2 separate regions of the Homo sapiens genome follow, and region 2 is linked to region 1. Evidence: promoter capture Hi-C in human tissues and cell types (Jung and others, 2019). All regions are on one chromosome and are shown on one strand. The core of a region is centred on a gene start or on the middle of the fragment in contact, and the rest is flanking DNA. Distances in the headings are between cores, read along the strand shown.

Evidence for each region. Contacts are between HindIII fragments. The study calls those that stand out against the background at their distance.
Region 2: a contact is called between a fragment that was not itself captured here and the fragment with the promoter of SLC2A6 in region 1, in 1 of the 25 tissues and cell types used here (dorsolateral prefrontal cortex).

What each region holds. Positions count from the first base shown.
Region 1 is chr9:133,475,671-133,481,690 of GRCh38, forward strand. It overlaps SLC2A6 (solute carrier family 2 member 6), which reads right to left and starts at 3,429. Exons shown (of 10, transcript NM_017585.4): 1 at 3,298-3,429; 2 at 2,584-2,746; 3 at 1,365-1,571; 4 at 567-666. The coding sequence starts at 3,389. RefSeq lists enhancers at 2,959-3,018, 3,439-3,940 and a silencer at 3,179-3,828. The HindIII fragment of the contact is 12,347 bases long and covers 1-6,020 here.
Region 2 is chr9:133,012,832-133,018,851 of GRCh38, forward strand. No RefSeq gene overlaps it. Among named protein-coding and RNA genes, the nearest start is that of SNORD141A, 4.6 kb to the right of the region's middle. The HindIII fragment of the contact is 3,919 bases long and covers 514-4,432 here.

The sequences.
Region 1 (6,020 bases), core at 2,179-4,678:
GAGCCTCTGAATAACCTCATCTGCCCTTCAAGGTCTAGTCCAAGGGCCATCTCCTACAGGAAGCCTACCCTGATTGCCCCAGGCAGGGTGGGGCTGCAGGGATTGCTCAGCCCCTGGCACATAGTGGGAAGTCCTTGGAAAGTCTTAGGGCCAGGGCAGGATGAGGAAGGGGTAGGTTGGGCAGGCAAGGCCCTAGGCCTCCACCCAAGACCTCCACGCCCCCTCAACTGAGCAGCTGCACGCACTGTGATTTCTTTTCTATCTGGACTTCCCATCTGAGATGGCATTTGATGGAAGCTTTCTGCCGTTAAAAGATAGTCTGGCGACTGTGGGTCCAGGAGAAGCCCTGGCTGCCCCAGCTAGAGACTGGGCCTGTGGCTAGAGGGGCAGGCCCTGCCTGGAGGTGCCCAGCAAGGTGCTGACTGAGTGGGGCCGGGATGCCAGATCTCTTGCCTCTCAGCCCAGGATCTGTTCTGGGACAAATCATTCCCTTTCCACCCACGTCTACCTTGGCGGCACCCACCCCTCCCACCAGCCTGCACACAGGAGTGCGGGGCCATACTTGCCAAGGGCGTAGAGGGACAGGGATCCGAACACTGCCATGAGCTGGGGTGTGGCCCCCAGAGCCCCACGAACGCCTGGGGGAGCAATCTCAGACACGTACACCTGCAAGACACAGCCGCCGCACCAGGTTTTGCTGAAAATACTGGTTCCTAGGCCCGGCCGAGATGGGAGAGTCAGCCCCTGTGAACCCCGGAAAGTGGGAAGTGGAGGCTTTCTGGTGGGGCTGAGTCCTGGTCATGACTCACTGCAAGACCTTGGGCGGCCTGCCTGATCTCTCTCTGTCCTCAGTTTCCCTAACTGTGACGTGGGTGGAAGTACGCAGCTCGGAAATGGGCAGCATGACGCTGGGAAGGAGGCCCGAGGGCTCCCAGGCTTCAGGGCTGAGCAGGTGAGTCCATGCCTCCCAGTGAGTTTTGTCTCCTCTGCTGGGCTCACCACCAGGCCCCGTGTGGAGTACCACATAAGATAAGAAGGTCCCGGGGAGGGTGTAGGGCAGGGACTTCCCTCTCCTACCCATTGCTCAATGCGGATTTTCTCCAATTGAGTAATACATCTGACCGGTCAAGAAACGGGGTAGAAGGCTTGGAAAGTCCAGAGTGGGGGCAGCTGGGGACCTGGAGACAATTTCCCCCAAATTAGCTGCCCTGCTGGGGGTGAGCTGAGGCGCCCTGGGCATCCGCAGGGAAGGCAAACAATTCTCATTGCCCAGAAGGCATGGAGGCTGGGAGGCCTTAGTCAGATGGAGGCTCAGCACCAATACAGAGGCATTGGGGCGCCTGGGTGGGAAGGCCTGGCCTTACCGGGATGCAGGCAGCTGTGAGCCCCCCGGCGAAGCCCGTCAGCGTCCTTCCGAGCAGCAGCATCCAGAGGCCGTGCGCACCCGCCATGAGCGCATAGCCGGCCGCCGACGGCACAGCTGAGAACATGATGCTCAGCTTCCGGCCCAGGAGGTCGTTGAGGATCATGGCACTCAGGCCTCCGGCCGCTGCTCCCAGGGTGAACACGGACTGCAGGGGAAGGGGGTGCAGGGCAGATATGTCTGGGCACTTGGCACCCCAATCTCATCAGAGTCCAGGGACAGCTTCTTCCCTAGGCCGACCCCAGGAGCTGGTCAAGCACTTGGCCAAGTCAAGCACTTGAAACAGGGAGCCTCCTGTCTTCAAGGAACAGCCATTTGTTAGGGATGCCCAAACGGGGAATTCTGCTCTAAGGAAGAGGTGCTGCGCCACATATCCACAGTGGTTCTGTCCAGCCTGATGTTTAAATGTCTAATATTTTAATACAGGAGAATTCTGTGACTTGAAGGTACTGGGCTTTAAGATTTGGAGGTTCTTAAGTTCCCTGTACAGCAGCAACTGGGACCCCCTCTGGACTCTGCTAACTGGTAGTGGGACCTGGGCACATTGCCCAGCCTGTCTGCACCTCAGTTTCTTCAGCTGTCTTATGGGGAGAGCGCAAGTTCTACCTCGTGGCGTTGGCCCTGAGAATCAATGAACGTTCAGTGCCCAACACATGCCTGGCACATAGGAAGTGCTCAGTAAACCTTGGGAATTTTTATCTTAACTACTATGTTAACAACTCTACATATGAGGCTATTAAGATTATAATTTTAGACTCTGGGACTCTGGGATCTTCCTCTCCATCAGCCCACAATCTGTCCTGCGGACTCTCCTTGCCCCAGCCAGTGCCTCTCCCCACTGACACCTGATACCCTTGCCCCCATCCAGCCAACTGTGGGTGTGGGGACCCGGGGAAGCCTCAGCCCCACCTAGTATAGACCCTGACAGCCACCTCCCCACCTGCTCCTTCCCTCACCCTCTCCACTGGCTTTCAGTTCCTCATTTCAGAGGAATCCTGTAGCTTTACCCCACCCACTAGTGGCCTGGATGGCTGGGGGAGGGGGGACCAGGGCCCTGGAGGGACCCCCAAGGTGGAGAATTTGGGAGGTTCCTAGCTGGAGATAAGGCTCAGCAGGTCCCTCCTTCCTGCACCCACCCTCCTCCAGAGGATGGTCCTTACCCCAAACCAGGATGCCTGGGATTTGGTCAGATGCAGGTCAGGATCCAAGGAGCGCTCCAGGGCTGGGATGACAGGGGATGTGTAGACCAGGGCATACCCAAAGCTGAAATTGCCGAGCACTGCGGCGAAGGTGGCCAGGAACACCCTTTTGTTCTGCAGGGTCCTGGTGATGGTGGCGGACAAAAAGACCAGGGTCTCTGAGTCCCTCCTCCAGGGACCATTGCCTTTTCTGAACCCAGTGGCTGCCCGGCTCAGCGGGCAGTGCTAGGGAGGCCTGGGTCCAAGGCCATTCACGTTCCCAGGGCCTGAGCCCCAGCTCCCCTGGGAAATTCCCAGGCCATTGTTAGCTCATCCGCAGTGGCTGAGCCTCTGGTGCTGGGGCCTTTTCTCCGGAAGAGGAGGCTCTGGTTCTGCCCCCAGGGCGGCGGCTGGAGGCTTGCTGTGTGACCTCAGGCAGAACCCCTGCTCGCTGGGGCCTCAGTCTCACTGTCTGTGGCAGTGGGGGGCTGGGCCCGGTACTCTCGTGGATCGTTCCTTCCCTTAGGGGGACCAGTTCCTTAAATAGGAGTAGCGTGTCTGGGACAGGAGGGAGCCAGATGGCCCCTCGGTGGCGACTAGGTCAGGGGAGGCCCAGGGCGGGAGCCTGCCGCCGGCTGGAGGGAACCAGGGCCACCCCCAGGCCCCACCCGCAGCCCCCAACCTAGCGACTCTCACCCGACCCGCGCCCTGTCCCCTGGCGACGGGGGCGGCTTCTCGGGGAAGGTGTCGTAGTCCGGGCCCTCGGCTCCCAGCAGCGGCTCCTGCATGGCCGGGTCTCTCTCGGGGCGAGCGGAGGGCGCTCAGACTGGAGCAGCCGCCCGGGGCCAGCAGCTCCGAGGGCACCGGCCAGGCTCCGCCCCTTGGCCGCTATTGGCTGTGGGACGGCCCTGCAGAGACACGCCGGCCAATGGGGCGGCCGCAGGCTGTCCTGATGCTCGGATGCGGACCCGGCTTCCCCGGGCGCGGCCGGCACCGCGTGCGCCCCCGAAGGTCACGCCCCAAGACAGGATGGGGGTCCCAGGGCGGAGCCCCTGCTGGATCGTCCGGGGCCCCCGCGGAGCGCCGGAAGCGGCTCACCCGGCCCGGCTCTTGCAGGCGTGACTGCGGCAATGCGCGCAGCCCCTGTCGTACTCGCTCCCGCGGGGTGGAAACCGAGGCCCAGAGAGGCGAAGCCGAGCGCCAGGGTCACAGCGAATGCGCACCTCGCTCCTCCTTACGCTCTAGCCCTCCCCGTCGCGTGGCGTCTCAGGGCCACCTCTGCCCTGGCTCTCCCTGGCACCAGGGAATCGGGGTGTGTCAGGGCAGCAGCGGATGTGCGGGACGAAGGAGGCAGGAGGGGCCGGCGAGGCGCTGTGGGCAGCTCCAGTGGGCGAGGTCTGTATCCTCCACCCCAGGCTCTGGTGGTAGAAATAACCTGAGCTCGTGACACGTAACCCAGGTAGTAAGATAACATTGAAAAATAAGAAAAGCAGAAATGGAAAATTCCCGGGAAGACCGTCCTCAAAAAATCCCACAGCAGTTCCACCTCTCCCTTTGGGCCTTTTCGGGAAGAGGACGGAATCACGCCCTGCTCTGTTGGATGGACGTGCCACACACGCTTTTAAACGGAGCCTTTGTTGCTGAGTATTTGGGTCATTTCCCATTTTAGCTATTAACATGGTAAAGCATTTTTAAAAGTTAGAATTCCCTTTTATTATGATTGAAATACAACCATAATAGAACAATAAAATCACATCCATCTCCCGTCAGCCTGACCTTGATGGCGTTTTAGCCTCTTCCAGTCTTTTCCTCATGTGCCTATTTTGCATATTTGCTATTGGGGCCCCCATTAAACTGTGCAGCCCCTTTACGTCACCGTTTTCTTGCCATCAAGATCATAGGCTTTGGACTCAGGCACACCCTGGTATGGTGATCAGGCTGCACAGTCCTCGTGGCCATATATATACGTATATACATATATATGTGTATGTATTTTTACATATCTATATGTGTATTTTTTTTTTTTTTTTTGAGACGGAGTCTCGCTCTGTTGGCCAGGCTGGAGTGCAGTGGCACGATCTCAGCTTACTGCAACTTCCACCTCCCGAGTTCAAGCGATTCTCCTGCCTCAGCCTCCCAAGTAGCTGGGATTACAGGCATGTGCCACCACGCCCGGCTAATTTTTGTATTTTTAGTGGAGACGGGGTTTCACCATGTTGGCCAGCTTGGTCTTGAACTCCTGACCTTGTGATCCTTCCGCTTCAGCCTCACAAAGTGCTGGGATTACAGGCGTGAGTCACCGCACCCGGCCTTCTCTTTTTTTAAAATGTATTTTTTTTCTTTTAAAATCAACTTTAGGCCAGGTGCAGTGGTGTGTGCCTGTAATCCCAGCATTTAGGAGGCCAAGGTAGGAGAATTGCTTGATGCCAGGAGTCTGACACCAGCCTGGGCAACAAAGTGACCCTGTCTCTACAAAAAGCTAAAAAAGTTGTCCAGGTGTGATGGCAAGTGCCTGTGGCCCCAGCTACTCGGAAGGCAGAGGTGGGAAGATTGCTTGAGCCCAGGAGTTTGAGGCTGCGGTGAGCTGTGATCACACCACAGCACTCCAGCCTGGGTGACAGAGGGAGAGCCTTCTTGAAAAAATAAAATACAAGAAAAATCAACTTTGTTAAGCTATAATTTATATACAGTAAAATGAATCCATTTTAAATATAGGTTGATGAGTTTTGACAATTGTATAACCCCAAACACCCCCAATCAAGATATAAAACATTTCCACCTTTTCTTTCTTTCTTTTATCTTTTTTTGAGACAGAGTCTCTCTCTGTTGCCCAGGCTGGAGTGCAGTAGTGCGATCTCGGCTCACTGCAACCTCCGACCACTGGGTTCAAGCGATTCTCCTGCCTCAGCCTCCCGAGTAGCTGGGATTACAGGCGCCCGCCACCACACCTGGGTAGTTTTTGCATTTTTGGTAGAGATGGGGTTTCACCATGTTGGCCAGGCTGGTCTCAAACTCCCAACATCAGGTGATCCTCCCGCCTTGGCCTCCCAAAGTGCTGGGATTACAGGCGTGAGTCATCACGCCCAGCCCATTTCCACCCTTCTAGAAGGTTTCTTTGTGCCTTTCTGAGGTCAACCTCCTTTCCCTGCTCCCCAGTAAACTATTTTTTTTTTTGAGAGGGAGTTTCACTCTGTCCCCCAGGCTGGAGTGCAGTGGTGCGATCTCGGCTCACTGCAAGCTCCGCCTCCCAGGTTCATGCCATTCTCCTGCCTCAGCCTCCTGAGTAGCTGGGACCACAGGTGCCCGCCACCATGCCCGGCTAATATTTTTTTGTATTTTTAGTAGAGATGGGGTTTCACCATGTTAGCCAGGATGGTCTTGATCTCCTGACCTCGTGATCTGCCGGCCTCGGCCTCCCA
Region 2 (6,020 bases), core at 1,223-3,722, 460 kb before region 1:
CGAAAGACAAATTCTCCACCATAACAATGAAAAAACTAAGAATGAACTAAAACTATAAAGCTTCTAGAAGAAAATGTCGACTATCTTTATGAATTTAGAGATTGGAAAATATTTTTAGTACAACATAAAAGGAACCATAAAGCATAAAAGAAAAAATATATGTTTAAGCTAAACATATTCTTAAGTGTGTTTTAGCCATGTCAAAGCTAACAACTTCTACTCATCAGCAGGCAGCATTAAGAATGTGAACAGCCAAGCCATGTTCTGAGAAAACTTTCCCACTCCATATCACCGACAGAGGACTTAAATCTAGAATATATAAAGAACTCCTAAATTAAAATACAATAAACTTTATTTTACTAAAACTAACTTGATTTAAAAATAGGCAAAAACTGGCCAGACCCAGTGGCTCACGCCTGTAATCCCAGCACTTTGGGAGGCTGAGGCAGGTGGATCACTTGAGGTCAGGAGTTTGAGACCAGCCTGGCCAACATGGTGAAAACCCATCTCTACTAAAAATACAAAAATTAGTCGAGCGTGGTGTTGGGTGCCTGTAATCCTAGCTACTCGGGAGGCTGAGGCAGGAGAATTGCCTGAACTTAGGAGGAGGAGGTTGCAGTGAGCCGAGATCAAGCCATTGCACTCTAGCCTGGGCGACAGAGTGAGACTCAGTCTCACAAAAAAAGCAAAAACCACTTTGGAAGGCTGAGGCAGGAGAATACCTTGAAGCCAGGAGTTTGAGACCAGCCTGGGCAACATGGCAAGACCCTATCTCTAGAAAAAAAATTTGAATTATCTGGGTGTGGTGCTGCATGCCTGTGGTCCCAGCTACTTGAGAGACTGAAGCCAGAGGACTGCTTGAGCCCAGGAGGTGGAGGCTGAGGCTGCTGTGAGTCGTGATCGCACCACTGCAATCCAGCCTGGGCAGCAGAGTGAGACCCTGTCTTAAATTTAAGAAAGCAAAAAGCTTTGAACAGACATTTCACAAAACGAGTTATTTAAATGGCCAAAAAGCATGTTAAAAGATGCTCAATAACATCATTAGTCAGGGAAAAATGTAAATTTAAGACACAATGAGATATGACTGCAACCTATTAGTACAGCTAACATAATACTAAGTGTTGTTGAAGATGTGGAGCAACTGGAAGTCTCAAACACTGTTGGGATGAATGTAAAATGGTACAACTGCTAAAGAAAAGAGGTCATCAGTTTCTTATACAGTTCAGCACACACTCTCCATGTGACTTAGCCGTTCCATGCCCAGGTGTCTAGCCAAGATGAACATTCATATCCATAGACATGACTTGTACAGGAATGTTCATCACAGCTGTATTTGTAATGGTGGAAAACTAGAAACCGCGTAATCTGGTTACACAGGCTGCGTTACAACTTATCCCCAAAATAGAGTGGCTTGAAGCAATAGTGAGTATTTATTCTCTCTCATGGTTTCTATAGATCAGATAATCAGACAGAGCACAGAGGCAATAGCTTCTTTCTCCTCTGTAGTGTCTGAGACCTCAGCTACAAGACTCAAAGGCTGGCAGTTGGAAGCATCTGAATGTCCTTTCATTCACATGTCTGGCATTGGATGTTGGCCCTTGGCTTGGGAGACTGGCTGTGGCTGTCATCTGGAACACTTGGTCTCTCCGTGTGGCCTAGGTTTTCTCACGAAATGGTGGCTGGGTTCCAAGGGCAAGCATCCCAAGAGAGGCCATGTTGCCTTTTATGATCCAGCCTTGAAAGTTCTGCAGCATCCTTTCTGCCACTTTCTATTGGCTGAGGCAATTGCAAAGGTTCACCCAGGTTCCAGGGGAGGGAATATAGACCACCACCTCAAAATGGAGGATTGTTGGACATCACATTGTAGGAAGACCATGGGGAATGGGATATTCATTGGGCAGCCACTGCTGGGAAATGCAATCCGCTACACCACCAAATGGCCATCAGTAGGAGAATGGATGTTATGGACTGCATGTTTACATCCCTCCAAAATTCATATGTTAAAACCCTAACTCCCAATAGGATGATAGTAGAAGGTGGGGCTTAGAAGGCGATTAGGTCATGAGGCTGGAGCCCTCATGATGAGATGAGTGTTGTTATAAGAAGATACCAGAGAGGCGGAGTGGCAGTGAGCTGATATCGCGCCACTGCACTCTGGCCTGGGCAACAGGGGGAGACCCTGTCTCAAAACAAACAAACAAACAAATAAATAAAAATAAGAAGATACCAGAGAGAGCTGGCCCCCTCTCTCTGCTCTGCCATATGAGGATACAATGAGAAGATGGCTGTTTGCAAAGCATGAAAAGCACCCTCAATGGACACTGAATCTGCCAGCACTCTGATCTTACACTTCCCAGTCTCCAGAACTATGAAAAGTAAATGTGACTGAAGCTGCCCAGTCTGTGGTGTTTTATTATAGCAGCCTGAACTAAGACAATGAAGAACCAAATGTTGGCATAGCACATTTATCCAACAATATACTGGCCAATAATATGAAAGAACAACTCTTGATACACACCATATAAATGAATCTCAAAATCATTATGTTGAACAAAAGAAGCCAGACAGAACAGATATGGAGTATAATTCCAGCCAAACTGTTACATATGGTGAGAGAAATCAAACAGTGGTTGGGTCTGACAGCAATGGACATATTGACTGGAAAGAGGCATGAGATGTTCTGGAATGATGGCAGTGTTTTTTTTCTTGATCTGGGAAATGGCCCCATGTATATGTATTAATTCACAGGCAAAAATTCATGAAGGGCAAGGCGCAGTGTCTTATGCCTGTAATCCCAGCACTTTAGGAGGCCAAGGCGGGCAGATCACCTGAGGTCAGGAGTTTGAGACCAGCCTGGCCAACATGGTGAAACCCTGTCTCTACTAAAAATACAAAAATCAGCCAGGCATGGTGGCGTGTGCCTGTAGTCCCAGCTACTCAGGAGGCTGAGACAGGAAAATCACTTGAACCCAGGAGGCACAGGTTGCAGTGAGCTGAGATCGCACTATTGCACTCCAGCCTGGGTGACCGAGCAAAACTCTGTCTCAAAACAAACAAACAAAAAATTCATGAAGGTGTACACTTCAGATTTGTGCATTTTACTACAAATAAATTATACCCCAATGGAGTACTATAAAAAGGTCATAAGAGAATATTATGAATAACTTTATCTCAATAGATTTGCAAATTTAGATGAAATTGAATAATCCCTAATAAAACATAACTTACCAAAGCTGACACAATAAGAAATGGAAAATCTGAGTAGTCCTTGATCTGAATCTGTAATTTAAGACTTTCTCACAAACCTCCCTCCCATTCCCAACATTTAAAAAAAGAAATCATGTACAAAAACAAAAATTAAAAAAGACAAAATAAAAAAAGAAAAGAAAGATAAGTCATGTACAAATTTACACAAAGAGAATGGAAAAAGAGAGAACACTTTTCAATTTATTGTATAAAGCTAACATAAACCTTGCTGTACAAAACTGGCAAGGACTTTACAAGAAAGAAAAATTACAGGCTAGTCTCTCTGGAAGACCTCTAAAGGTGAATATACTATACAGGCACACCTGGTTTTATAATGCTCTATTTTATGCAATTTTCAGATATTTCTTTTTTCTTTTTTTTTTTGAGATGGAGTCTTCCTCTCTCGCCCAAGCTTGAGTGCAATGGCACAATCTCGGCTCACTGCAACTTCCGCCTCCTGGGTTCAAGTGATTCTCCTGCCTCAGCCACCTGAGTAGCTGGGATTACAGGTGTGCACCACCATGCCTGGCTAATTTTTGTTGGCCAGGCTGGTCTTGAACTCCTGACCTCAGGTGATCTGCCTGCCTCGGCCTCCCAAAGTGCTGGGATTACAGGCGTGAGCCACTGCACCCAGCCTGTTTTTTTTTTTTTTTTTTTTTTTTTTTAACAAATTGAAGGTTTGTGGCAACCCTGGGTCCAGCAAGACTATTGGCTTCATTTTCTTAACAGTGTATGTTCACTTCATGTCTCTGTATCACAATATTTCAAATGTTTTCATTATTATATGTGTTATGGTGATCTGTGATCAGTGATCTTGGATGTTATTATGGTAATTGTTTTGGCGTACCTCAAACTGCACCCATATAACAGCAAACTTAATCAATAATTGTTGTGTGTGTTCTGACTGCTGCACTGACTGGCCATTTCCCCATCTCTCTCCCTTTCCACAGGCTTCCCTCCCACCTGAGACCCAAAATACTGAATTTAGACTGATCAGTGACCCTACAATGGGCTCTAAGTGTCCAAGTGAAAGGAAGGGTCCCAGGTTTCTCCCTTTAAATCAAAAGCCAGGAATGATTAGTGAGGAATGTTGGCATGAGGAAGGCAGGTTGAAAGCCAAGGCAGACCCAAAGCTAGACCTCTTGTGCCAGACAGTCAAGGTGTGAATGCAAAGGAAAAGTTCTTGAAATAAATTAAAAGTGCTACTCCAGTGAACACACAAATGATAAGAAATCAAAAAAGTCTTATTGCTGATATGGCTAAGGTTTGAGTGTTTCGGATAGAAGATCAAACCAGCCACAGCATTCCCTTAAGCCAAAACCTAATGCAGAGCAAGGCCCTAACTCTCTTTAATTCTAGGAAGGATGAGAAAGGTGAGGAAGCTGCAGAAGAAAAGTTGGAAGCTAGCAGAGATTGGTTCATGAGGTTTAAGGAAAGAAGCCATCTCCATAACACAAAAGTACAAGGTAAGCTGGGCGCGGTGGCTCATGCCTGTAATCCCAGAACTTTGGGAGTCTGAGGCGGGCAGATCACCCGAGGTCGGGAGTTTGAGATCAGCCTGACTAAGATGGTGAAACCTCGTCTCTACTAAAAATACAAAATTAGCCTGGTGTGGTGGCACATGCCTGTAATCCCAGCTACCCGGGAGGCTGTGGCAGGAGAATCGCTTGAACCCGGGAGGTGGAGGTTGCAGTGAGCCGAGATCACGCCATTTTATTCCAGCCTGGGCAACAAGAGTGAGACTCCATCTCAAAAAAAAAAAAAAAAGTACAAAGTGAAGCTGCAAGTGCTGATGGAGAAGCTGCAGCAAGTTATCCAGAAGATCTAGCTAAGATCACCGATGAAAGTGGGTACACTAAACAACAGATTTTCAATGTAGATGGAACAGCCTTCTATTGGAACAAGATGCAACCTAGGACTTTCCTAGCTAGAGAGAAAAAGTCAATGAGTGGCTTCAAAGCTTCAAACGACAGGCTGACTTTTGTTAGGGGTTCATGCAGCTGCTGACATTTGGTTGAAGCCAGTGCTCATTTACCATTCCAAAAATCCTAGGACCCTTAAGAATTATGCTAAATCAGCCAGGTGCGGTGGCTCATGCCTGTAATCCCAGCACTTTCAGAGGCTGAGTTGGGCAGACTGCTTGAGCCCAGCAGTTCAAGACCAGCCTGGGCAACATGGCGAAACCCGTCTCTACAAAAATTACAAAAATTAGCCACGCATGGTGGTGCATGCCTGTGAAACTCCCAGCTACTCAGGAGAATGAGGTGGGAGGATCACCAGAGCCCGGGAGGTGGAGGGTACAGTCTGTGCCACTGAACCCCAGCCTGGGCCACAGAGCAAGACCCTGTGAAAAAAAACAAAAGAAAAGAATGATGCTAAATCTACTCTGCCCATGCTCTAGAAATGGAAGAACAAATCCTGGATGATAGTGTGTCTGTTTGTGGCATGGTTTACTGAATATTTTAAGCTCTCTGTTGAGACCTGCTGCTCAGAAAAAAAAAAAGATTTTTTTCAAAATATTGCAGCACAGTTCAATGACACTGAATACATCCACATTGTTGCGCAACCATCACCATGTGACTTTTTTTTTTTTTTTTTGAGATGGAGTCTCGCTCTGTTGCCCAGGCTGGAGTGCAGTGGCGCGATCTTGGCTCACTGCAACCTCCGCCTCCTGGGTTCAAGCAATTCTCTTGCTCAGCCTCCTGAGTAGCTGGGATTACAGGTGCATGCCACCATGCCTGGCTAATTTTTGTATTTTTAGTAGAGATGGCGTT